2 separate regions of the Homo sapiens genome follow, and region 2 is linked to region 1. Evidence: promoter capture Hi-C in human tissues and cell types (Jung and others, 2019). All regions are on one chromosome and are shown on one strand. Each heading gives the region's core, a stretch centred on a gene start or on the middle of the fragment in contact. The rest is flanking DNA. Distances are from core to core; before and after follow the strand shown.

Evidence for each region. Contacts are between HindIII fragments. The study calls those that stand out against the background at their distance.
Region 2: a fragment that was not itself captured here is called in contact with the fragment with the promoter of GPC5 in region 1 in 5 of the 25 tissues and cell types used here (adrenal gland, aorta, lymphoblastoid cells and 2 more).

The regions. Positions count from the first base shown.
Region 1 is chr13:91,397,368-91,400,112 of GRCh38, forward strand. GPC5 (glypican 5) reads left to right here and starts at 1,254. Exons shown (of 8, transcript NM_004466.6): 1 at 1,254-1,842. The coding sequence starts at 1,680. It overlaps LOC124903189 (a long non-coding RNA gene), which reads left to right. Exons shown (of 2, transcript XR_007063831.1): 2 at 1-221. RefSeq lists silencers at 1,068-1,362, 1,069-1,338. The HindIII fragment of the contact is 16,121 bases long and covers 1-2,745 here.
Region 2 is chr13:91,486,608-91,489,307 of GRCh38, forward strand. All of the region lies in intron 2 of GPC5 (glypican 5), which reads left to right. Among named protein-coding and RNA genes, the nearest start is that of GPC5, 89 kb to the left of the region's middle. The HindIII fragment of the contact is 4,390 bases long and covers 1-2,700 here.

The sequences.
Region 1 (2,745 bases), core at 4-2,503:
CTTTCCATACTTGGTGGTTAGAGCAGAAGAGATTCATGAAGAGCACTGCCCTTTGAAACAAAATCTCATATTCAGAAAACTGATGCCAAACACCAAGTAGCATGATTTCACTCTGAAGCAGTGTTTCAGCCATTGCCCTGGAATGGTTTTAAAGCAAGTGATATACTGCTGAAAGTGCTGCCTTTGATATTAAATGTTCATTAAAAATCTTCACTAAGACATAAAGTTTTTCACTACTATCTCTTGGTAAGGGTTCAAATTTGAGATGAAATTCCTTAAAGTGGTTAAAGCATTCATTGTCCCCTCTGCCTGATGCTTTTAACTAGTTTATTTTACAGAAGGAGTACTCTCTTCAAGTGGCTGTAGATTGAGACACTCTTACAGGCTTAGTTGTTGAGTCAACCACATTTAAAAAATGCACCTGCCCTTTGGTTTATGGTGCGTAATGCATTCCTCTCATAAACTGTAAATTGACAAAATTCCTTTGCCATTTTAAAATTGCTTAAAGTATTTATTTTTCTATATTCCTTGTAAGGAACTCCCCTGAGCACTCTTAACTTAATTGCTCTCTGAAAAATATTTTAAAGAAATTCCAGAAGTGGTAAAGCTCAGAGGAGCCCCACAAATACAAAGTGCTGAAGTAAAATATGATGCTAAATGGTGATAAGAGACTTAAAACTAGATTTCATTGTGATAAGAATGTGATAAAGTTTGATTGTAATTCTTATACCTCCTTTCAGAAAATCATGTTATAGAAAAATGTTCCTAAGCAGTAAAACAAAGCCATTTTAAAAAATAACTTCTCATGTGCACTCTTTAACAACCTAAGTGTTATGAAGTCTCTCAATTGAGATCTTTAACCGTAAATAGTTTTTGCCTTTTGTATTATGTCCAGATCCTATTTAATGCAATTAGAATACAAATTCCTATGTACTGAGGACCTTGATTACATAGATGAGATATTTCTTAGTTCCAGTTGGTGTTTCTCATCTCTTGTCTTCTCTGACCCTATTTATACATTCTCTGTTTTTATCAGATGATTCTTCCCCAGAACGGACTGGGAGAGCGAGGTCCGGGTTTCCTTCTATTTATTTGCATCGATGTCGCTCCGAGTCTTCAGCACTGGGCCGCGTATGACAGCATCTTAGTGGGTGCGGAGCGGGACAGCGCGCCGGGGGCGTGGCAGGGGCGTGGCCTGTCCGCGGGGCGGGGAGTGCGGGGCGGGGCTTCCGCGGAGCGCAGCGAGCGGGCACATCCCAGGTTAGCTGCTGCGAGCCGAGCCGGGCGGCGGAGGCGGCGGCGGCGGCGGCAGTGGCGGCAGTGGCGGCAGTGGCGGCAGCGGCAGCAGTTGCAGCAGTGGTGGCCAGAGCGGATGCTTGCGGGCTCCCTGCGGCTCCACTAGTTTTCTTCGCCCCGCCCAGCCGCCCACTCTTCTCGGCTAGGGAAGAAGACCAGAGGGTGCTCAGCTGGAAAACTCTGGTGTCTCAGCTTAGGGCCTCCTCCGGGAAGAGCTAACTGCTCCCAGGTGAAGCCGGTGCCCGCGGGCGGTCCGTACACCCCGCAGCCGGCTCGCACCGCTCGAGAGCCTCGGCCGCTGTGTCTTCCACGTCTGCAGCTCAGCCAGGGCGCGCAGGGCGAGTGGGGTCCACTGGCGGGTAAAGGGGACCAGGACGGCGAGGATGGACGCACAGACCTGGCCCGTGGGCTTTCGCTGCCTCCTCCTTCTGGCCCTGGTTGGGTCCGCCCGCAGCGAGGGCGTGCAGACCTGCGAAGAAGTTCGGAAACTTTTCCAGTGGCGGCTGCTGGGAGCTGTCAGGGGGCTGCCGGATTCGCCGCGGGCAGGTAAGGGGCAATGAGGGGGTCTCTGGACTGGCGGCGTCCGAGCCCGGCCTTCGCTCCCCCAGGCTCCCTTGGTGGCACTCGTGGGAAGATGACCTTTCGGGCCCTGCAGCCGCGCAGGGTGAATCCCGGGGAGGCTTCCGGGGATGCTTGGTGCGGGTAGCCTGAGTGCAGCGCAGCGCAGCTCTGGGGACCCCTAACCAAGCCTGCGACGAATCCCCGTTCTGGGCATCTGCTTCCCGCCCGGCTCCCTTCGTCTTGGAGGATGAGTTGGAAGGAACCAGGAAAGCAGACATCAGGGCGTGGGGGACACGCAGTCTAACTCCGTTTCTCTTCCGAGTAGGAATTTCCCCAGTGCCCCACCGGGGATTTCGGTTTACTGCTTTCTCATAAGGTGGAGGGAATTGAATTGATCGCCCCAAGTTTGGTACTAAAAATCACAAACCTGCGATATACCCCTTTGCTGGAGAATGGGGCACAGACAAGGGCAGCCGGTCTCCTCTGTAATTAGGACTTGGACCCTGTGCACCCAGAGACGTGACCCTTAGCTGCCCTTCTGTGCCCTCGTATCAAGCCCTGCTTGGAGGAAACCCAACCACCCAGTGTGTCTCCCAGCACCAAGGTAGTTTTTAGCCTGAAAAGTGTTAGGGCAACAGGCGATCAAACCGAACGTACTGGGGAGTCACTTGACATGGATGAGATGTACCAGCGTTCCAAAGGGAAAGATACAGTTTGTGTGGCCAGCGTGGATCTTGCTTCCTGTGAGCGCCTTTTGCCTGTGCTTTCGAACCCTGCTCCCCGTTTCCACCGCACCAATTTCCTTCTGCTGGTGGGAGTTCCAGTGTAGGTTCTGTCTGGAAGAATAGGTCATAGCTGTCAAACGCAATAGCAGGTGTCTAGAGCTAA
Region 2 (2,700 bases), core at 72-2,571, 89 kb after region 1:
GGTATCTTTGGAGCCAAGACAAGAAAGGCAGGATAAACCTTGCTCAATTAAGCTATCTTTGAGGAACCAGAAAACAAACAAAAATCCCAATATAGTGATTTAAAAATAAACCCTAAGCAGGAAGGATGAGGATGTCTATTACTTAGTATGAGAAAGAAATTGAGCAGATTGGAACGTGACACCAATTCTTGGACTCAGCGAGTTGATTCTGGAGAGGTAAAGCAAAGACAGTTCTCTTCAATGCAGTGAACAGAGAACAGGTAAGGGTTGGGTTGAATTGAAGAATTGCTTTGAGAGTCTCTTATCTGCTGCCTGGAATGATTGTCTGTATCAAGGCCATATTCCTAAAATATGAAATCTGTGACTGATGTGGGGGCTAGGGAATTGAAGCTTGTATGGGGTGTATCTGAGAAATAAAAATATCCAAATCGAGCTTTGATTCAGGCTCAATATTGTAGGTTTGAGGAGGGAAAGTTTCCTCTTCACCTTCTGAGGGTTTGCTGAAAATGAACTGACAAAATGCAGATTAACAGGAGAGAAAGCATACAAAATTTATTTAACGTGCACAAGGGGTGGAGATGGGGGGAAGTCACGGGTGTGATTACCCAATAGCCCAACGATGCTTATATACTCTTCTTCACGGGGAGTGGGGATATGGGGAATGAAGGCAAATCTTTTGAGGAGTAATAGATGGTTAGTAGGGAGAATGAATGGATGCTGAAGATGGAAATTAACTTATAAAGAATTTTCTTTGGAATTTCAATGCGCCTCAGAGACAGACATTATCCTGTGGAAACATCTGTCCAGGTGTGGTTACATTTCTCACTCTTATTTTCTGTGATAGATAATGACATTTGGGGGAGGGGATAGAAGGTTTTCTCTTTGGCAGGTCCAGTCTTCAGATAGAAAAGGGAATACTAGGGTAGGGCCCCTTCCAAGATCTGATCACCTTCAATGGCCTTGCATCTAAAATAGTATACCGTGGTGTTATATTTTGGGGTGAAATTCTCTGGGAGCCTTTAGCATCTTTATTTAGCATTGAGTGTTTCATGGACTAGCTTATTTTTGAGGTAAGATGTTGAACTTTTAACTACATGCTACATGATTAAAAAATCTATTATCTCTACTTCTCCTTTATAGATCAGATGTTTATGTCAGATAAAGCTTGTCTTTAGGATTCCTTCAGGCCCCATTTTCGGTCCTTGTTTTTATCCTCACTGAAGGAACCCATATGTTAGGATTATCCTACCAAATATAGTAAGCAGAAAGTATTTGCCAAGAGAATACCATGTGTACATTTGAACACTGGACATTTAAACAGGTTTTTTTTTTTTTTACGGGGATACTTACAATATGACTAAGGAGATAGATGTATAAAAAATGAACAAGATAGCATACTTGGAGAAAATGCATTATATGCACATTTAATTCCACTATAAGTTTTGAGTGGAGGGATGGATAGGAAGAGAGAAATACATATATGTATGACCCAGAGGGTATATACAATGGGAGAAAGGAACCTGTTGTTCCAAGTTTCTATTATGGCATATATGGTCATGATGATTTTCTCAGTATGAAGCATCTCCTAGGGCTAAGTTTGATGTAAAACTGATGTTCTGTATTTTAGGGGTAAGTTAAGAGGTTTGAAAGTGTTATTTAGACTGTACTATGCTTGATTTTCAATTTATAAACTAACCCGCTTGTAAGTTTCTTTATAATTCCAAAAAAATGTCATTTGCTAGGGGAGATTAGAAGAGTGAAGTGATTCCCCAAGGTAAGTTGAAGGAGTTTCAGTTAGGTCCTATGTTGCGGAAAGTCAGGGACCCCGAACGGAGGGACCGCCTGAAGCCATGGCAGAAGAACGTAAATTGTGAAGATTTCATGGACATTTGTTAGTTCCCCAAATTAATACTTTTATAATTTCTTATGCCTGTCATTACTGCAGTCTCTGAACATAAATTGTGAAGATTTCATGGACACTTACCACTTCCCCAATCAATACCCTTGTGATTTTCTATGCCTGTCTTTACTTTAATCTCTTAATCCTGTCATCTTCGTAAGCTGAGGAGGATGTCTGTCATCTCAGGACCCTGTGATAATTGTGTTAACTGCACAGATTGTTTGTAGAGCATGTGTGTTTGAACAATATGTTCAGGGAACAAGAGAGATAACCGTAAACTCTGACTGCTGGTGAGCCAGGCCAACAGAGCTGTATTTCTCTTCTTTCAAAAGCAAATGGGAGAAATGTCACTGAATTATTTTCCTCAGCAAGGAACATCCCTGAGAAAGAGAATGTGTCCCTGAGGGGAGGCCTCGAAAATGGCCGCTTTGGGGGCGGCTGTCTTTTATGGTCGTAGCTGTGGGATGAAATAAGCCTGGTCTCCTGTAGCACTCCCAGGCTTATTAGGCCGAGGAAATTCCCACCTAATAAATTTTGGTCAGACCGGTTGTCTGCTCTCAAACCCTGTCTGCTCATGAGATGTTATCAATGACAATGTGTGCTCGAAACTTCATTAGCAATTTTAATTTTGCCCCGGTCCTGTGATCTCACCCTGCCTCCATTTACCTTGTGATATCTTATTACCTTGTGAAGCATGTGATCTCTGTGACTCACACCCTATTCGTACACTCCCTCCCCTTTTGAAAATCACTAATAAAAACTTGCTGGTTTTGGGGCTTGTGGAGCATGACGGAACCTAC